Linked DNA regions of Homo sapiens: all the other regions are linked to region 4. The links are contacts of gene promoters, found by promoter capture Hi-C in blood cells and fetal thymus (Javierre and others, 2016). All regions are on one chromosome and are shown on one strand. The core of a region is centred on a gene start or on the middle of the fragment in contact, and the rest is flanking DNA. Distances in the headings are between cores, read along the strand shown. Region 1 has its middle 9.7 kb from the start of ZNF543. Region 2 overlaps ZNF582 (zinc finger protein 582). Region 3 overlaps ZNF460 (zinc finger protein 460). Region 4 holds the start of ZNF527 (zinc finger protein 527).

Region 1 (5,516 bases), core at 3,006-5,505, about 20 Mb before region 4:
CTTCAAACTATACTTAAAGGCTACAGTGACCAAAACAGCATGATATTGATACAAAAACAGACATATAGACAACTAGAACAGAATAAAGAACCCAGAAATAAAGCCACATATCTCCAAACATCTGATCTTTGACAAAGTAAGCAATAACAAGCAATAGGGAAAGGACTCTCCTTCAATAAATGATGCTGGGATAACAGGTTAGCCATAGGCAGAAGACTGAAACTGGACCCCTTCCTTTCATCATATACAAAAATCAGTTCAAAATGGATTAAAGACTTAAATGTATGACCTAAATCTATAAAAAACCTTAGAAGAAACCTACAAAATATCATTCTGGACACAGGCCTTGGCAAAGGTTTCATGACAAAGTCTCTAAAAGCAATTGAAACAAAGGAAAAATAGACAGATGGGACCTAATTAAACTGAAGTGTACAGAGAAAGAAACCACCAACAGAGTAAACAGACAGCATACAGAATAGGAGAAAATATTCACAACCTGTGCATCTGACAAGGTCTAATATCCAGAATCTATAAGGAACTTAAGCAAAGTAACAAACAAAACAACAACCAATCTCATTTAAAAAATTGAGCCAAGGACATAAACAGACATTTCTCAAAAGAAGACATACATGTGGCCAACAAGCATATGAAAAAAAAGGTTCAACATCACTAATGATTAGAGAAATGTAAATCAAACCACAATGAGATGCCATCTCACATCAGTCAGAATGGTTGTTTTAAAGTCAAAAAGTAACAGATATTGGCAAGGTTGTGGAGAGAAGGGAATGCTTATACACTGCTGCTGGGAAAGTAAATTAGTGCAGCTATTCAGGAAGGCAGTTTGGATGTTTTTCAAAGAACTTAAAACAGACCTTCCATTTGACCCAGCAATCCCATTACTGGTTATGTACCCAAAGGAATAGAAATCGTTCTACCAAAAAGACACATGCACCTGTATGTTCATTGCAGCACTATCCACAATAGCAAAGACATGAATCAACCTAGATGCCCATCAACAGTGAAATGAATAAAGAAAGTGGTATGTATACACCATGGATTACTATGCAACCATAAAAAACATCATGTCCTTTGCAGCAGCATGGATGGAGCTGGAGGCTATTATCAGAAATGAATTAATGCAGGAACAGAAAACCAAATGCTGCATCTTCTCACTTATAAGTGGGAGGTAAACAATGAGAACACATAAACACAAAGATGGGAAAAATAGCTACCAGGGCCTACTTGATGGGAGAGTGTGGGAGAAGGGTAAGGGAAACACAAAAAACAAAAAAACTTTCTGTTGGGTGCTATGCTCACTACCTGGGTGACAAAATCATTTGTACATCAAACCCCAGTGATATGCAATTTACCCCTGTAACAAGCCTGCACATGGACCCCCTGAGCTTAAAATAAAAGTTGAAAATAAACCCACAAAACAAGGGAAAAAAGGTGAAAAATGAGAAATTGTCTATTGGGTACAATGTGAACTATTTGGGTGACAGTCACACTAAAAGCCCAGACTTCACCAATACATAATATATCCCTATAACAAAACTGCACTTGTACCCCCCAAATCTAAAAAGAAACAGTTTACTGAAAGACAGATAAAAAATAAACACATACCATATGATTACATTTATATAAAATTTCAGAAAATACTAACTAATGTATAGTGTCATTAAACAAATCAATGGTCACATGGGGATAAAGTATTGGAGAATAAGAGGAGATTAGTAAGGGGCATGAGGAAACTTTTGACATGTGTATACATGTCGAAATTTATCAAATTATACAATTTCAATATGTCTAGTTTATTGTATGCCAATTATATATCATTGATGTGTTAAGAAAAAAAAGTTTCCACATAAAAATCTGAATCAATCAATCCTGTATTTATTCAACTCTCTCCCTCTTCCCATATCTTGAGTCAGCCCTCCTTCAGTGGCAGCAAAAACTAGAAAGCAATGAAGGCCATCACTTCCCACATGCTGACTGGGTCACAAAAGATGCACGATCGACTCCAAGCTCTCTTTTGTCAGTCCTGGGGTTCCTGCCTGTTCAGTGATGACCAAAATGTCAACAGCCCAGGGAGGTACAGGAATTCACAAACTTTCAGATTGTTTGCTCTCACACCGGCCTCAGCCATAGGAGAAAAGGAGCTCAGCCGGTCGTGAGAATTTTTGTACACCCTCATCGCAGAGTCATAGTTACATTAAATTTGTGTATCCCCCTTTAGAGTACACACATAACTTCTAGTTTCCCAGTCTCCACTACTCCCTACTATCCAATGTTTCTGTATGTAGTGTTTCTGTATCTGTTTCCTGCTTAGCCCCTGTAGGTCTTACATGCCTACCAGATTTTAGATTTCAGGGGCAATGTCCTCTGCATAGAGGTCCTAGGAGACAGCCACCCCTCAACAGAATTGATGGAATATGACACATCCTCTGGGAAAAAGGGACTCAACTTATGCTGTTTCTAGAAGCACTGGAGGTTGTCACACCAACTACTCCCTCATGAGGGTGAGCTTAGGGCTCACAGAGATCCTGACATCCAGGTCACAAGATCAGTCTCACAATGCCCTACAGTTTTCCCTAAGAGACGTTGCGTAGCATTGCAAAACAGGCCAAACTAGACTTAGAGCTACTCTCTACCATCCTGCTGTCCACTCTGAGGCACATAAAGTTGGTGGTCCCTGCTAGCAAAGCCCTTCTTTTCTCAATCAGTCCCACACAATGAACAGAACAGATTGAAGGGTTAAACACTATGGCATTTATCTCTGCACAAATGAGAACATCATGAGGTGGGCATATCTAAGGTTGGTGGATTGGGAAGCTGGTTGGAGAAATCCATCTCAGCTACCATGTGGGGTCAACACTGTTTATTAAGGATGGGGACCTCTTGAAATCCACAGCAGGCCCCAGCTCAGATCTTTTAGGCTGCAGCTGGATAATATCCACGCTGAAACCACTAAGGGGAAATAGATGAGGACCCCATTTGTTTCTGATCACTCATGCAGTTGTAGGTAATCTCCACAGTGTGAATACACATATGTCTGAGGTTCAAATCCTGGCTTAGAGCTCCCTCTCAAAGGTTACTCTCAGAGATTTTCTCTTAGGATCATGCCATGTTAAACAATGAGCACATTCCATGAACTCTTAAGGCCTCTCTCCAGTGTAAATTTTCTGATGCCTAATGAGGTTAGGCCTTCACTGTATGCTTTCTTATATCTGCTACAAAAGGCCTTTCTCTGGTTGACTTTCATTTGCCAAGCAATGTGGGAATTTCTGCTTTCCCACATTTCCTGAACACACAAGATCTTGTTCCATTGTGAATTCTCTAACATGTTACAAGATAGTCCATTACTCCATTCTCACACTGCTATAAAGACATACCTGAGTCTGGGTAATTTATAAAGGAAAGAGGTTTAATTGACTTACAGTTCTGCATAGCTCGGGAGGCCTCAGGAAACTTAAAATCATGGCAGAAGGCAAGAGAGAAGCAAAGACACGTCTTACGTGGAGGCAGGTGAGAGAGAGCGAACGAGCGAACAGGAAAGAGCCCCTTATAAAACCATCAGATTGAGGGCTGGGCTCGGTGGCTCATGCCTGTAATGCTAGCACTTTGGGAGGCTGAGATGGGTGGATCACCTGAGGTCAAGAGTTCGAGACCAGCCTGGCCAACATGGCGAAACCCCGTCTCTACTAAAAATTCAAAAATTAGCTGAGCCTGGTGGCGCACACCTGTAGTCCCAGCTACTTGGGAGGCTGAGGCAGGAGAGTCACTTGAACTCAGGAGGCGGAGGTTGCAGTGAGCCAAGATCATGCCACTGCACTCCAGCCTGGCCAACAGAGCAAGATTCCGTTTCAAACAAACAAACAAAAAACCCCTTAGATCTTGTGAGAACTCACTATAGGAGAAGAGCATGGGGGAAACTGCCCCCATGATCTAATCACCACCCACCAGGTCCTACCCTGGTCACTGGGGATTATGGGGATTACAATTCAAGATGAGATTTGGGTGGGGACACAAAGCCTAACCACGGTAAGAATTGTGGCTTTAGAATGTCTCACGTTCACCACACTGAGAAGATATTTTTCCATTGTGGACTTTCTGGTACTCAACAAATGTGTCTTTATAAAGAATTTGCCACATGATCTGCACTCATAAGGTCTTCTCCACTATGAATTCTCTGGTGCTAAACAGGATGAGGTCTAGTGATAGAGGCTTTCTCACATTCAGCACTTTTTTTTTTTTTCTTTGAGACAGAGTCTCGCTCTGTTGCCCAGGCTGGAGAGCAGTGGCGTGATCTCGGCTCACTGCAACCTCTGCCTCCCAGGTTCAAGCAATTCTCCTGCCTCAGCCTCCCGAGTAGGTGGGACTAAAGGCGCGCACCACCACGCCCAGCTAATTTTTGTATTTTTTTACTAGAGACGGGGTTTCACTATGTTGGCCAGGCTGGTCTCGAACTCCTGACCTTGCGGTCCGCCTGCCTCAGCCTCCCAAAGTGCTGGGATTACAGGTGTGAACCACCATGCCTGGCCAACACACTCTTAAAGCCTTGATCCTGTGTGAACTATTTGGTGTATATGGAGATTAGAGCTGGAGCCAAATAATTTCCCATAATCACTGCACTCATAAGGCACAGCTTTGCTGTGAATTCTCTTGGGTAACTATAGAATAGTAGCTGTTATTAAAGGTATGCCAGCACTGACTGCACTCATAAGGGTTTACTCCAGCATGGATTTTCTGATACTGAAAAAGTATGTATTTGCAGCAAAAGGCTTTCCCACAATTGCTGTACTTGGAATCCCTTTGTCCAGTGTGAAAAGCCTCCCCACTCTCATTGCTCCTGTGTGGCTCTTCCCCATTGAAAGAGGCCTGATGCTGCACAAGTTGAGAGCTGACCAAGAGGTATTTCCCACCCTCCTTGCAAGTGAAGACCTTCTGTGACATGTGGGTAAGCATCTAACCAGTTCATGGCACAATCCATCCATTTGTTCACCAGATATATAATTTATTATGTTGCTTATGCATTGTACACTGTAACTCCATTATTCCAGCAACTCAAAACCCCATCCAATCACTTGGTTCATCTCACTGTTACAATCTCTAGGGTGTGTTGTCCTTTGCATCAGATTCGAATACTGTTCCTATAGCACAGGAAAACTATAAACACAATATATAATTGTATCCATTCACATCCAGTATACAGGAGGCCAGGGACACAGTGGAATGACATGGTCAAATTGCTGAAGAAATAACTACCAACCCAGATTTCTATCCACAACAATAGTATTTTTCAGGAAGAGCACAATATAAGATTATATCTGGTCAAAAATTGGAAATTTAGTAGAAAAGTAACCCTAAAAGTTATCCTTAAGGCCAAAGGAAAGTGATTACAGGTGAAAGTTCTGCAGTGGTAGAAGGAATGAGAATCCAAGAGATGGATGCATCTGCAGATCAATACAATTACTTATTATCTCTATACAACATGAACAATATCTTCTAATTGAGCA
Region 2 (5,340 bases), core at 1,731-4,230, about 19 Mb before region 4:
CTAGTTTGACGTTGGACAGAGCATTTGAATCTGGGACATCCTCCATTAGTTTCTTTAGCTTAAGAGGAAGAAAAGTACAGAGCTGAGGATGGTGAGCGATGTAGCAAGTGAGATGATCATCTAGGTGGGTGAGTGGTCAGGGCTTGGAAAAGCCTTAGAGATCTGATCCAACCTCGGGATCCAAAATAAGAGGATGTTTGAGTCAGTTGTTTCACTTGATAGAAAATTGTGCACTCAATAAAAGTTATCTCCATGGTTTTTCCCATGAAGAAAAATGCTTGTGTTATGTTCCAACATAATGATGAACTTTCATCTCCAAGAAATTCTTGACTTACATGAAAATCCTGTATCTAAGATAGAAAACATGTTTCCATAATTTTAAAAAATAAAATATTTGGGGAAAATCCATCAGAAATATTTTTTGTTGTTATTGTTATTCCAAAAGATAGAAGTGATAGGTCTCACCTTGAGAATTTATTGTATGCCAAGTATAGAGTGGGCAGTGTGCTTTATTACACTGTTTCTTAACAATAAGGAAAACTCCATTTAGCTTGATTTTAATTTTCATCCCAGACCTGTACACAGAGCATTGATTTGCAGTTAAAAGGAATGTTTGAGAACAATTTGATCATTCTGTTTTACTCATCCCCATTTCTTCTGTCACCTTTCACATTCAGTCCCACCCTTCTTGTTCAACAAAACAACCCCCCCTCCCGCAAAGACCTGCCCCATCTCCTTTCATCCCACTGTGAACCATTGAAATACATATATATCATACATGCCTGTCATTCCAGGGGTCAGAATTGTTCAGGGATGTGGCCATAGTCTTCTCCCAAGAAGAATGGCAGTGGTTGGCACCTGCTCAGAGGGATTTGTACAGAGACGTGATGTTGGAGACCTACAGCAACCTGGTCTCACTGGGTAAGGTGATCTCGTCTGTTAGTTTGGAGGTTATCCTTGGGCATGTTCCTTCCTGGTCAGTTTTTGGGTGCTTTTCAGTCTTATGATTGGTTGGTCATTTTTGAGGGGTTAAAGGGCGGCGCTGTCGGCTGAAGCTGCATCCCCCTACCCCCAGGCAACTGTCCCATCTTCCTCTGGCACTTCCTGCAACTGCCTCTCCTGCTTGATGACCAGGTCCTGGATCTGAATTCTGGGGCCCCCACACCATAACCAGGTGGCATGTTTCTTCTCATCTCCAGGTCTTGCCGTTTCCAAACCTGATGTGATCTCCTTCCTAGAGCAAGGCAAAGAGCCCTGGATGGTGGAGAGAGTGGTGTCTGGAGGCCTGTGTCCAGGTGAGTGAGGTATCATTGGGAAGGGAGCAGCCACTGCAGGTATCAGGTCCGCTGGAAGTGGCCCTTTGTCTTAGAAGATCTTCCCTGCAGGTTGCTACCTTCAAAGCTTATGTCTTACGTGTTGTTTTCCTCAGCTCGTCAGCAGCATTTGACAAAGGTGGCTGCTCCTTCCTCCTGAAACACTTTAAAAATTCAACCTGGATTATAGGGCTAGACTGAGTACAAATATGGTGGTTCCTAAGGAAAGTATTTTGTCTTTGGAAAGATGTCTGTATCTTTTGACCATTTTTCTTTTTTTATTAATTTTAATTTTAATATTTAAAATTTTTTTTAACTTCAGGAGTATAAGTGCAGGTTTGTTAAATAGGTAAACTTGTGTCATGGGGGTTTGTTTACAGATTATTTCATCACCCAGGTATTAAGCCTAGTACTCATTAGTTACTGTTCCTGATTCTCTCCCTCCGCCCAACCTTCCATTCTCTGAAAGGCCCATGTGTGTTGTCCCGCTCTGTGTGTCCATGTGTCCTCATTTAGCTCCCACTTATAAGTGAGAACATGCAGTATTTGGTTTTCCGTTCCTGTGTTAGTTTGCTTAGGATAATGGCTTCCAGCTCCATCCATGTCCCTGCAAAGGACATGATCTTGTCCTTTGACCATTTTTCTAAAGGAATTTGTATCGGTTTGTTTGAATTCTGGAGTCAGTTAACAAGTACTTATTAAGCTTTTATTATGCACCATGGAATATGCCACAGTATACATTGATGAGGCAGGTGGACATTATCCTTGCTTTCATGGAACTTACACTGCAGTGGGAAAATAGACATGAAATCATACACACTGGACATGAGCTAATATGTGAAAGAAAAAGAACAGGTTCAGTCAGGGTGCATGGTAGGGCCAATGGCCTCTTCAAGGATAAGGCATTTCAGCTGAGACATGGAAGGTGTGATGTAGCTGGGGAATACCAGTTGTAGCCAATGAGTGTGAAGGACCTGAGCAGGGAGCCCTTGGTACCTCTGAGATAATGGATGGCCCTTGTGGCTGAGGTCAGTGAGCAAAGGGAGGAACACAGAGATACACTAGGGGCCGGGCATGGTGGCTCATGCTTATAATCCCAGCACTTTGGGAGGCTGAGGCGGCCAAATCACTTGACCAGTCTGGCCAACATGGTGAAACCTCGTCCCGACTAAAATCACAAAAATTAGCCGGGTGTGGTGGCACGTGCCTATAATCCCAGCTACTTGGGAGGCTGAAGCAGGAGAATCGCTTGAACACGGGAGGCGGAGATTGCAGTGATCCGAGATCGAACCACTGCGCTCCAGCTGGGGCAACAGAGAGAGACTCTGTCTCAAAAAGAAAAAAAAAGATACGCTAGGAAAGGCAACCACGTTATGAAGTTTGGGTTCTGCACTGTGGGCAGAGGGAAAGCACTGTAGAAATAGAGGCAAGCCATGATTTTATGGTCCACCTGGAGAGGATATAAATATTGTGCTTCTCACAAATTATTCACCTGCTAGTTTCAGAAGTCATTGATAGTTTTCTCTTGGATCAGATATGATTAATAGTTACAAAATAGTGATTTTTAAAAAAACTTTATTCTTATTTATTAGATCACATACTCCTGTAAAGAAGAGCTTTCTCCCTTTCACCATTTGTTTCTTCATTTATATCATATGGATTAATAGTAGGTGGCATATTTTTTCTCATTTCCAGGTCAGAATAAAATAAATCTTGTTTTATCCTGTAACAGATTATTACCCATTATCATTATTTATCACAACGTTCATAGTTTTCCAGACTTGCCCAGTGACACCCTTTCAAACTGGCTCCTGGGTTCTTTGGACATAATCCCCCCCCCCTTTTTTTATAAGCACGTTTTTAACTTTTTTAGTTTCAACAATTCAGTAAAAGCTAGTTAACATAAATACAGAAGAAGTCCACACAATTGACATCCGTGTACATAAATGCAAGAATGCCAAACCTCACATGAACCAAAAAGTATCAGCTCTTACAATGTTGACTATTTAGCTATGACTAGTAGGTCATAAATCTTCGCATAAGCAAGGGTACACATTCAAATGTTTTTTAAAACTAAGAATAAAACAATTTTATGTTTCTAAAAGGAGAAGCATAAAAGTCAATCTGTCGAAGAACATAAGGATGTGATAGAAAAGAGATTTGCGTGGGCACAAAGTTAATACACTGTGTTAATACTTTTACATATTAAAATCCCTCTGCAGCCAGGCGTAATAACTCATGCCTGTAGTCCCAGCTACTCAGAAGGCTGACAGAGGAGAATCACCTGAGCCTAGGAGTTTGAGGTTGTAGTATAATATGATTGTGCCTCTGCACTCCAGCCTGGGCAACAGAATGAGACCCCATCTCCCCTGCAAAAAAGAAAGAGAAAGAGAAATACTTTGGAGGCAAACTTTATATAGAACGTTTGTATATAGTTTTTTTTTAAGTCATCAGTGTCATACTTAAACTAAAATGCAGATTGTGTTTTTGTCTCCAAACTGATTGTAATACTTTTGAGTCCAATCAAAACACCTCAGAAACATCCAGTTACTGTTGATTACAATAAATGTGACATGCTGACAGAATTTAAGAAGGTACAGTTTTTCACTGGTGAGAGCAGTAAAAGCTTGGTAATTTTCAATAATGTTGGGATCACTACAGTGAATAGATCTGCAGAACAACATATCTAAAACCCAGACAAATGTTAGGAATACTGGTTCTGTTGAATAAATGACCAATGTTTTTATAGAAATACGTAACATAGAATTCCCTCCTGCTCTTTCACCCTCAATAAATGCTATAAAGTGCATTCACAAAGAGCCATATTAAGATAAAGCTACTGCACAAAATACAGCACTCATATATACTGAAATGAGTAGTATCACACTGGAGTTTAATTGTGCACATTTTATATACCAGTATAGCAACATCCTTAGCCAGAAGTCTCAACAGAATTATCATGAACATAAACGTTTAAGGGTTATATACATATATCAATTTAAAGTATGAAAAGGTGCATTTGAACTTCATGGCAACATTTAAAAATGATATCCTTGTTAGCACATCACCTTGAATCTATGATGTATGATTCAGCAAATTAGGACAGAATCAAATTCTCAGCAAAAAGTACTTTGAGGCTGGGGATGGTGGCTCACGCCTGTAATCCCAGCACTTTGGGAGGCCAAGGCAGGCGGATTGCTTGAGCCCAGGAGTTTGAGACCAGCCTGGGCAATATGGCGAAACCCCATCTTTACAAAAAAGCACAAAAATTAGCTGAGCATGGTGGTGCCCACCTGTAGTCAAGCTATATCTGAGTCTCTTTAAGTCAACTGGGGTTGGTTGCTATAAGTACAGTAAAACCTGCCACTGTAGCTGAAATAATGTACCAGGTAGAATCACAGTCCATTATAGCATTCAGCTTTTTCATGCAGTTTGAATAATCAGCAAAGTATGTTGCTCTAGAAGGACCCACCCTCAATCAACTGGCCTAATCCTCTAAACAAGGAAAAAAGCCCTTCTTTTTCCAAGGTCACCTTTAAGAAATGAAAAGGTTCAGGTAAATGCATGACATTTAAGAAATTTAAGAAATGTCATTCAGTTGATAATGGGCTTCAGCCATGGCGTTCAACTAAACTTCAGATATAAAAAACACCATGGTGTTCAGCTAAACTTCAGATATAAAAAGCTTCACAGAGGAAGACAGCAGCCATGTCATTCTAACTTCTAGCGGACACATGAGAATAGCTGCCACTGTACCAGCATATTCCTCTGGTTCATTCTCCTGCATGTCCTCCAGGCACTGAGGCAGGTTGCAGATCCAACCACACACTTCCAACACCACTTTTATTTTTATTTTTTAAAACTGTGGTAAAATACAAGATTTACCGTGCTCACCATTTTCAAGTGTACAGTTCAGTAGTGTTAAGTACATTCACACTGTTGTACAACCATCATCACCGTCCATCTCCGGAACTCTTTTCATCTTGAAATCCCCATCATCTTTTTAAAATTCACTCTTTTGGGGGCA
Region 3 (5,529 bases), core at 540-3,039, about 20 Mb before region 4:
AGAAATCAGTCTAAGTGTCCATTATCAGATGAATGAAGAAAGAAAACATGGCATATATACACAATGGAATACTACTCAGCCATGAAAAATAAACCTGTCATTCACAGCAACATGAATGAGCTTGAAAGACATTAAGTGAAATAAGCTAGACACAGAAAGAGAAATACTCCATGTTTCTACTCATATGCAAGCATAAAAGGTTGAGAATGGTGGTAACCAGAGGCTGGGAAGGACAGCAGAGAGGCAGATAGAGATTGGTTAACAAATACAAAATTACAGCAAGTAAGATTCCATTTGAATAAGTTGTAGTGTTCTGTGGCACTGCAGAATGAGTACAATTGGCAATAATACATTTTATATTTTCAAATAGCTAGAAAAGCAGACTGTGAATGTTTCTAAACACAAAGAAATGATAAATGATTGAGATGGATATGCTAATTACCCTGATTTGATCATTACTCTTAGCACACATGTATTGAAATATCACACCAAACCCCATAAACATTGTCAATTAAAAACAATAAAAGAAACAAAAAGAATACCAAAAGAGAAATTCCAAAATATTCTGATTAAACATATTAATTACTACGACTGGACTCAATCCATGGTGACAACTACCTGCATATACATATGCAGGTTCACCTGTTAAAATTCCAGTCACTTTATGTATAGTCAGCCTTCACACAATCTTCTGTAAGACTGAAAAATGAGATTCCTTCTCTGTGTTTATTTTCTGAGTTTATCATAATCTTTTAACTTACTTTAGCTACATGTCTTATTTCATTTTTGGTTCCAAATTGACCTCTAGAAAATTGTTGAGGTGAATTTTGAACTATTTACTCTCTCTAAAGAGCAGTAAAAAAGCTGAGAAACCACAATCAGAGGGAAGAATTAGGACTCCCTGGATTACATTATGTACAAACAGCTACAATATCATCTCCATCCTACAGAAAAATAAAGAAGAAATTGACAAGTAGATCCAGATCAAGAAAAAAGTATGGTACTGGGTGGTTAAAGACACACGGAGAAACAATTTTTTTAAAAAAGTCAAAGCGTCTGAAGTGTGCAGTAAAATGTGCCCATTCATATGTACATCCTTTATCTCCTTAAATGTAAAAGTATTTCATAACTCAAGCCTCCATCTTTCTCATAAAGATATATGCTTCTGCTCCTCAAGAGTGGAGACAATGCTGTGGAACAAAGCAGGCTTTCACAAAATGTTTTCAAACAAACCGTTTGTCTACAGCACTGGACAGCAGTGAATGTATACACAGGGAAAATAAAGGGGATGAGGCCCTTTTGTTTCTGAAACATTTCCCTCTCCCAAATAAAATAAGGAGGGGATGACAAATTGCCATGGGCTTGTCAGGGAAGTCTGAAAGAAGCTGTGCTTCCATTTCTTTCTCTTCCCTATGACTCCTCCTCCTTTGTTTGAATGTCCCTGAGATAACATTTCACTGTAAACTAATAAGAAAGATGTGGCTGAAGGTTTTCCTAAGTGCACAGTAACCACTGGGTCTCTTTCATGGGTGAATTATCAGATGTAGAATAAGACTCTTGGCTGTGTCAATTTCTAACATAATTGTTTAGATGACAAATGATGATCTAAAACAGGTTTTCCCACAGAGATGATACTTATGGAGTTTCTCTTCAGTATGAATGACCAGATGGTAAGATGTTTCCTCTCACCACAGATTTTCTTCAGTGGTTATATTAAAAAACTATTTCGCTAATAGGAATTCTTGGATGTTGACTGAAGTGTACGTAAAAAGTCTTTCCACATCTGTTACAATGGTAGGGTTTCTTCCACTATGAATCCGTTGATGTCGAGTGAGGAGGAATGAGCGGCAATTGAAGGCGTTTCCATATTCACTGCACTCACTGGGCTACTCTCAGTGTGGATGATGGAGTGTTGAATGAGATCTGTGCTCTCACAAGAAACGTTCCCACTCTGGATGGGTTCGTGGGACTTCTCTGCAGTGTGAATCCGCTGGTGCCTTGTGAGGGGTGACCTGCGGTTGAAGGCCTTCCCGCACTCCACGCATTCATAGGGCTTCTCTCCAGTGTGGATGCTAAAGTGTCGAATCAGGTTTGTGGTCCGACAAAAGGCTTTCCCACATTGGATGCATACATACGGCTTCTCTCCAGTATGAATCCACTGGTGCCTTGTGAGCCCTGACATGCGGGTAAAAGCCTTTCCACACTGTAAACACTCATAGGGCTTCTCTCCAGTGTGGATGTTGAAGTGTCGAATGAGGTCTTTTCGAATGCTAAAGGCTTTCCCACATTCTTTGCACTCAAAAGGCTTTTCTCCAGTGTGGGCTCTTTCATGCAGGACATAGGTGGAATAGTGAGTGAAGGCCTTTCCACATTGACTGCACACAAAGGGCTTCTCACCAGTGTGAATCCGCTCATGCTGCTTGAGGTGTGACCTGCAGTTGAAGGCCTTCCCACACTCAAGGCACTTAAAGGGCCTCTCCCCAGTATGGATAATGAAGTGTTGAATGAGGGCTGTACTCTCATAAAAGCCTTTTCCACATTCGCTGCATGCGAAGGGTTTCTTCTCATTGTGGCTCTTGTTATGCAAGACAAAATTGGAGCGGTAGGTAAAGGCCTTTCCACATTCATTGCACACAAAAGGCTTCTCTCCACTGTGAACCCGCTGGTGCCGTGTAAGGTGCGACCCGCGATTGAAGGTCCTTCCACATTCACTGCACACAAAGGGCTTATCTCCATTGTGAGTCCGCTGGTGCCGTGTGAGGTGTGACCTGCGGTTGAAGTCTTTCCCACACTCCAGGCATTTATAGGGCTTCTCCCCAGTATGGATGATGTGATGCTGAAGGAGGTGTTTGCTCTTGCCGAAGGCTTTCCCACATTCTGGGCAATCATAGGGCTTCACACGAGGGAGAATCTGCTCATGCTGAACAAGGAAGCAATTCTCATTAAACATTTCCTCGAATTTATAGGAATTTTCCCCTTCATGAATCAAGGAATCTGTAACTGGTCCATATGAGTCAAATCCATAGAGAGCATCTTCTGGTGAGACTTGGTTCTGTATCATCATTGAACAAATACCATCAGCTGTCGCCAAACCTTCGTGTTCAAGGCTCATTTTCCCATGGAGTTTCTCACTCTGTGGGTCTGTCCCTGGTCTCAAAAAGTATTCCTGCATTTCAGATGGCCCATCTTGATCCATGGCCTGCCCCAAATAGGAGTATCTTGGGACTCCCTGTGCCAGCTGTTCCTGGAGTGAGACTTCCTCAGGCAAGGCCAGATGAGAAGGGATAGGCTCTACGGTCTCAGGTTTTGTGCTGTCACCTGAAGGGAACACAATACACAAAAGAACTTATTAAGATAGTACAGAAGAAATGAAACCACCTTTTTGGTGAGAACAATAAGATGAAAATAGTGATGATTTGAAAATAGCTATGATTTGATGGGCTGGGTACAGTGGCTCATCCCTGTAATCCCAGCACTTTGGGAGGCCAAGGCAGGCGGATCACTTGAGGTCAGGAGTTTGAGACCAGCCTGGCCAACATGGTGAAACCCCATATCTACTAAAAATACAAAAATTAGCCAGGCATGGTGGCGGGCGGCTATAATCCCAGCGACTGGGGAGGCTGAGACAGGAGAATCGCTTGAACCTGGGAGGTGGAGGCTGCAGTGAGTCAAGACTGAGCCACCGCACTCCAGCCTAGGTGACAGAGGGAAACCCATCTCAAAAAAAGGCCAGGCATGGTGGCTCATGCCTGTAATCCCAGCACTTTGGTTTGGGAGGCTGAGGCGGATCACCCGGGATCTGCCCACCTCAGCTTCCAAGGTAGCTGGACTACAGGCATATGCTACCACGCTTGGCTTTTTTTTGTTTATTTTTTTTTAGATGGAATTTCACTCTGTTGCCTAGGCTGGAGTGCAGTGGCATGATCTCAGCTCACTGCAACTTCTGCCTCCTGGGTTCAAGCAATTCTCCTGAATCAGCCTCCCAAGTGGCTGGGATTACAGGTGTGCGCCACCATGCTGGGCTAATTTTTTTGTATTTTTACAGATGAGGTCTCACCATGTTGGCCAGACTGGTCTAGAACCCCTGAACTCAGGTGATCTGCCTGCCTCGGCCTTCCAAAATGCTAGAATTACAGGTGTGAGCCACCCCGCCTGGCTAAATTTTTTGTATTTTTAAAATAGAGATGGGGTTTCACCATGTTGCCCAAGCTGGTCTCGAACTCCTGGGCTCAAGTAATCCGCCCACCTCTGCCTCCAAAGTGCTGGGATTACAGGCGTGACCCACCGTGCCTGGCCAACTCTTGAAATTTTTAAAGAGAAACCCAGAGGGAGAAGCTCAAGCAGAGTACAGATGGTCTGGAATAGAGATCCCCACTCACAGTCAAGATGAGACTAGGTGGACATCATAATGATGACACTCTATCATAAGCTTGCTCAAGAACATGTCAAGGAGCTACAAGAGGCCAGGGAAGGGGCACTTAATGTAGCCTAGAAGGGGCAGGGACAGGAAGAGGTCAAGGAGGCTTCCCAGAGAGGATGCTTCATGAGCTTAAAGTTAGAAGGACATATTAGCCTTAGGACATAGAATATACAAAGACACAGAGTCTTCAGCGAATCCAGAGGACTGCAGTGAGAGGAGGCAGCCCCATAAGAAGTTAAGGTTGATCAGGATTCAGAGACAGGAAGGGGCGGAGACGAAGCTGATGCTCAAGATTCTGCCTGAGGGACAGCTAGTGATGGCCACAGCTACTCTTAGGACAGAGCTCCTAGGACAGAGGGTGAACAGAATCCTGGTAGACATATAGAATCCACTGTCAAGGTGAAAGGTAGGCGAAAAGGCTAACAAACAACTGGATCTTGAAAAAGAAAATAATAAAACTTTATTTCAAGACAATAAAGATCTAACTGAATGAAGAAATTGATAATATAAAATTATCAATTCTCTAAAAACTGATCCAGAAATTCAATACAACCCTGAGAAACAATAACCTGAAAATACTAGAAAAAGACACAATCTGAAAGGTACTGCCTGTAATCCTGGCTACTCGGGAAGCTGAGCCCAGGAGTTCGAGACCAGCCTGGGCAACATAGCCAGATCCATCTCTTAAAAAAAAAAAAAAAGTAATAATAATAAATAAAAAGAATGTGTGGATTAGCCTTGGAGAGTATGTAAGAGTAAAAAGGATGGGCTATGAGATAACTGATGAAGCCAACATAAAAGTGAAGATCAGAGTAAAAAGAGAACCAAAGCCCAGTGAGAACAGAGAAAGAGAATCTAAGACGGCCCAATGCTCAAGCACAAAATATGAAAACTCTGTGCTGAATCGTGAGTTCATATTGAAGGGAGGTTAAGAGTGTAGCTCTGGAGTCAGAACATCTCAGTTCAAATCTTGCCTGTACCAAGTCAGCTGATGCCAGAGAAATGATTTAGTTGATCCTAGTCTCCACTTCCTCATCTGAAAAACAGAAACTCTCAGATTCTGTTTCATAGGCTGTGATGAGGGTTAAATAGGAAAATTCTTGGCTGGG
Region 4 (5,124 bases), core at 417-2,916:
ACAGTGGCTCACACCAGTAATCCCAGCACTTTGGGAGGTCAAGGTGGGCAAATCACTTGAGACTAGGAATTCAAGACCAGCCTGGGCAACATGGCAAAACCCCATCTCCTCAAAAAGTACAAGAATTAGTTGGGCGTGGTGGCATGTGTCTGTAGTCCCAGCTACTTGGGAGGCTGAGGTGGGAGGCTTGATTGAACCCAGGAGGTAGAGGGTGCTGTGAGCCGAGATTGCACCACTGCACTCTAGCCTACAGGACAGAGCAAGACTCTGTCTCAAAAAAAAAAAAAAAAAAAAAAAGAAAAGAAAAGAAAAGAAAAGAAAGGGACAACTGTGGTTGACCTAGAATTCAGTATACATCACCCCCTAATTTCACCCCCTAATTCTGGACTACTTTGCACTAGGCAACTCAGTCCCTAGCAGTTATTTCCTTAGTGTAGTGCAGCTTGAAATTGTCCATAAAAACTGCAGCAGGGCGCAGCGCCTCACGCCTGTAATCCCAGCACTGTGGGAGGCTCTGGTGGGCGGATCATGAGGTCAGGAGTTGGAGACCAGCCTGGCCAAACATGGTGAAACCTCGTCTCTACTAAAAATACAAAAACTAGCTGGGCGTGGTGGTGCGCGCCTGTAATCCCAGCTACTTGGGAGGCTGAGGCAGGAGAATCACTTGAACCTGGGAGGCGGAGGTTGCAGTGAGCCGAGATCGCATCATTGCACTCCAGCCTGGGCAATAGAGTGAGACTCCATCTCAAGAGAAAAAAAAAAAAAAAAGCGAGACCTCTAGAGCTAAACTGCTTGGGTTTGAGTTCTGGTGCTGTCACTTGTTAACTGTGTGAACTTGGGTAATTCTAATATTTCTGTGCTTCATACATCAATCCCACAATCTCATATATACACACAAATTCTCACCCAATCACAAATGTATAGAGTCACACAAACACACCCATAATCTCACACAATACACAGCCACATAAGCACAAAGATAGATGGTAACATACAACTACACCAACAGAGATAAACAATCACACACAATCACACACAAAGTAGCATACCACAGAAGTCACACATCTTGTCACAATTACTGATACAAAACTATACCTGCGGAGACAGATGGTCATAGTCGCACAATCACACTTGCTGTCACACACATTCAAACGCAATTGTATCCGCAGAAACAGGTGGTCACATAACCACACACATGCATTTACACAAACACACAATGTCACACCCCAGTCTCTCATAAACACATACACAGCTACACCTGCAGAGACAGTCACACACAAACACACATATTCACAGTTTCACCCCCAGACACAGATGGTTACAGTCACACACAAGCGGGCGCACGCGCACAAACACACACACACAGTGACACAAGATCACATTCTGTCACACCCGCAGCCTGTCACATAGTTGGTAATACAGTGAAACACACACGGCCTCCCCAGCGACTCCTGCCGGGTTCCCATCCCTGGCGCGGCCGGGCCACCCGGAGCCCGCCCTTGACTTCCCGCTCCCGCCCGGGGCCCGGCCCCACTCACCTCCCGGCGCCGCGGGCTCTGCAAACGGGCCCCGCGACCGAGACCCGCGACGTCACCTCCCAGAATCCTCCGCGAGGAGGAGCGAGGCGAGGACTGAGGCATGCAGGACTCTGAGCTCTGCGAGATCTGAACCAGCGACACCGCGTTCCCCATGGACCCCGCGAACCACGAGCCCCAGAACGCTTTGCGCCACGGCCGTCATCGTTGAACTACATCTCCCAGAGAACCCCGCGGCCCCCTCCACTGCGCGCCTGCGCCACGGGGGCAGGTACCGGAGAGGGCTGTGTGCGGTCGTAGGCTCTCCAGTGACCTTGAGCTGCTGTGTTGGGGAAAGCGGCCAGGCTGCGCGCGGGGCTGACTGGTTGAATGCTTGGGTGTGGTGGTTCGTGTGTGACTGTTGCTGCACACCTTTATGCTTGCCGACGAAAGGAGCGGCGGATTTTGTCAGTGCAGGGAGCTTCTGTATTTTAAATCACGTCCCGTGATTGTGGGTAGCTGAATGTGAAAGTGATTGTGGATGAAAGAGACTGTGGCTGACATTGGGGGTGACCGTTTCTGTTACTGTGAGGATACCACTGATCCGATGTGTATCTGACTGTCTCCTGGTCTTACTGTTCCTTCACCCCCATCTCCTGCCATGGGCGGGGTCTGTGGTATCTTTTATTGAGGCAATCTCGGCGCTCACTGCAACCTCCGCCTCCCGGGTTCAAGCGATTCTCTTGCCTCAGCCTCCTGAGGAGCTGGGATTACAGGCACCTGCCACCACGCCCAGCTAATTTTTGTATTTTTAGTAGGGATGGGGTTTCACCATGTTGGCCAGGATGGTCTTCATCTCCTGAACTTGTGATCCACCTGCCTCGGCCTCCCCAAGTGCTGGGGTTACAGGCATGAGCCATCGCACCCGGCCTATTTTATTATTATTATTATTTCTCAATTGGTCAAAATAATATATTTAACATTTTAATATTATTAAACATACAAAAGGCCACACTTTGGCCCTCCTCTAGTCAAGCAGTTTCCTTCCTGGTGAAAGTCCATAGGCAGAAACATGCCTGCAAAGATCTCACAACCTTCTTTCAGACCATGCTCTGGGTATCCAAATCCCCAGGATTTCCTGTTCAAATGGACTCCAGCCTGCTTCCAGAGCCTGTATCTCCTCTGTGTCCAAAGACCCTTCCCTTGATCTGTCTTCCAAAGGTGGAATGTGCTGCCTATCCACAAAATGTGGCCAAATGAGAGCAATTTGGTAAGGCTAGACAGAGCTTAGATATGCAAGCTGGAGTGTCCACATGTGGGAATAGAAGACCTCTTACGATGTGGGACAAGGATGGCAGTGGGAACAGAAGGGGACTGGCTGGGGACCTCCATCTGTACTGTTGACCCAGGTCTCTACATGTCAATGACAGGCTCATTTATGTATAAACTATTTTGGAGACCAATGGTCTTATGATGATGGTGGTTTGAATTAGGGTCATCACTGGAAGAGGCAATGAGAAATTGTCAGATTGGGATACAGTTTGAGTGTAGAACTAACAGAAGTTGCTGATGCTTGGTTGTGAATATAGGGAAAGAGAGAAGTTCAATATAATGCCTAAATGTCTTGAGCCCCTGGAAAAATGGTAGTGTTATTTACTAAGATAGGGGAAAATGAGTATGTGGCAGTTATCTAGGATGGGGTGGGTGGTGAGGTATCATGTTAAGTCGCAGATGCTTGTTGGATTTCAAAAGAGTGATATCAAGTAGGCATTTAGATATATGTGTGTGGAGCTCAGTGAAATGTTGGTACTAGAGATACGAATTTGGGAATTTCAATTAAGATGCTTTTAATAGGAAGTTATACAGTTATATGCTCAACTGAAAGTAGCTTATACAGTAAAGATATTTATTTCCCCACTTAGCAAGAAGTTCAGTTGGCTTAGCAGGTGACCAATTGTAGCAAGAATCCTTCCTCCTGCTCTGCAGTCCTCAATGTATTGGCAGTGTTGCTTTATGTGGTTGCAAGGTAGCTGCAGCAGCTCAGGTCCTCACACAATGTCTTCATTCTGTGTCTAGTTCCAGAATGAAATACTTTTGTTTTTCATTCTTTCGGGTCTCTTTTTTTTTTTTTTTTTTTTTTTTGAGACAGAGTCTTGCTTGCTCTGTTGCCCAGGCTGGAGTGCAGTGGTGCAATCTCGGCTCACCGCAACCTCCACCTCCCGGGTTCAAGTGACTCTCCTGCCTCAGCCCCCGAGTAGCTGGGGTTACAGGTGTGCGCCACCATGCCCGGCTAATTTTTGTATTTTTAGTAGAGACGAGGTTTTGTCATGTTGGCCAGACTGGTCTCGAACTCCTGACCCCAAGTGATCCGCCCGCCTCAGCCTCCCAAAGGGCTGGGATTACAAGCATGAGCCACTGTGCCTGGCCCCCAAACATTATCTGACCACACTTAGATAACCACTGTTACATAATAATTAGAATTAAATGAAATAGCTATTTAAAAACTTACTTAGATCAGGCGTGGTGGCTCAGGCCTGTAATCCCAGCACTCTGGGAGGCCGAGGCAGGTGGATCACCTGAAGTCAGGACTCGAGACCAGCCTAGCCAACATGGGGAAACCCTGTCTCTACTAAAAATACAAAAATTAGCTGGGCATGGTGGTATGCACCTGTAATTCTAGCTACTCAGGAGGCTGAGGCAGGAGAATCAGTTGAACCTGGAAGGCGGAAGTTGTGGTGAGCCAAGATCGCACCACTGCACTCCAGCCTGGGTGACAGAGTGCGACTCCATCTCAATAAAAATAAATAAAAATTTAAAAATAAATAAACAAATAAAAACTTACTATGACCTCTTTTAAAATTGAACATTTTAATGGTGACCCTAACAGACTTGTGGATTTGAGGTGATATTGTCTCATACTGTTTACCATCTGTTCTTCAAAATTTTCTTTGTGTAGTGTAGTCTACTACTTACCGTGAGAATGGTAGGATGGACAGTGGTTACTCTGGGACAGGTTTCTGTTGGTTTTAAACATCTAGAGCTGTCATCTCAGGATGGGAAAGATAAAGCACTAGTGAATGGCTTTCTAGACAGACTGGAAAATCATCAAAACACCAGACTCAGAAGAAGCCACATAACTGAATACTTTGTGGTGCTTGCCTCCTAATCAGGTTCCAAATTTGCACACAGATTTTAGTACCAGGCCAGGCCCAGGTGGACAGCTCAGGTTATCTGCCTCAATTTTCTCTCCTGAGAGGTTCTGAGCAGAGGGCCTAATGTGAGTTTAACAATCAACACGGTTGGGGCTGGGGCTGGGCCAAAGGATAGAATGTAGCCTTCTACCCCTTTCTTACAATTCCTGTTCTCTTTGCGTGGCTCCATAGAAACCATATCCTGGGGTTTGTATCTTTTTAAATATATTTAAGTCTTCAGGTAGCATCTGTTCTATTTTTTGCTAAGAATTTTTAACAATTTAAGACAAAATCTTAGTTATATGGATGAATTAAATTGAAAGCTGTATACTATCACACTGTTCTTTATTATTATTTTTGAGACAGTCTCACTCTGTCGCCCAGGCTGGAATGCAGTGGCCAATCTCAGCTCACTGCAA

Evidence for each region. The method cuts DNA at HindIII sites, captures the fragments that hold promoters and counts their contacts. A CHiCAGO score of 5 or more calls a contact.
Region 1: a contact is called between a fragment that was not itself captured here and the fragment with the promoter of ZNF527 in region 4, in 1 of 17 cell types (total CD4 T cells). The highest score is 7.6, in total CD4 T cells.
Region 2: a fragment that was not itself captured here is called in contact with the fragment with the promoter of ZNF527 in region 4 in 5 of 17 cell types (non-activated CD4 T cells, total CD8 T cells, activated CD4 T cells and 2 more); the score reaches 14.6 in non-activated CD4 T cells.
Region 3: a contact is called between a fragment that was not itself captured here and the fragment with the promoter of ZNF527 in region 4, in 1 of 17 cell types (neutrophils). The highest score is 6.5, in neutrophils.

The regions. Positions count from the first base shown.
Region 1 is chr19:57,308,036-57,313,551 of GRCh38, reverse strand. No RefSeq gene overlaps it. Among named protein-coding and RNA genes, the nearest start is that of ZNF543, 9.7 kb to the left of the region's middle. The HindIII fragment of the contact is 9,398 bases long and covers 1-5,516 here.
Region 2 is chr19:56,385,956-56,391,295 of GRCh38, reverse strand. ZNF582 (zinc finger protein 582) reads left to right here. Exons shown (of 5, transcript NM_001320371.4): 3 at 795-921; 4 at 1,200-1,295. It also overlaps the pseudogene SLC25A36P1. Among named protein-coding and RNA genes, the nearest start is that of ZNF582, 4.9 kb to the left of the region's middle. The HindIII fragment of the contact is 1,923 bases long and covers 2,019-3,941 here.
Region 3 is chr19:57,288,488-57,294,016 of GRCh38, reverse strand. ZNF460 (zinc finger protein 460) reads right to left here. Exons shown (of 3, transcript NM_006635.4): 3 at 1-3,318. The coding sequence ends at 1,787. Among named protein-coding and RNA genes, the nearest start is that of ZNF460, 11 kb to the right of the region's middle. The HindIII fragment of the contact is 5,284 bases long and covers 1-4,431 here.
Region 4 is chr19:37,367,641-37,372,764 of GRCh38, reverse strand. It overlaps ZNF527 (zinc finger protein 527), which reads right to left and starts at 1,666. Exons shown (of 5, transcript NM_032453.2): 1 at 1,539-1,666. RefSeq lists a silencer at 1,267-1,576 and enhancers at 1,607-1,916, 2,087-2,136, 2,157-2,296. The HindIII fragment of the contact is 7,295 bases long and covers 1-5,124 here.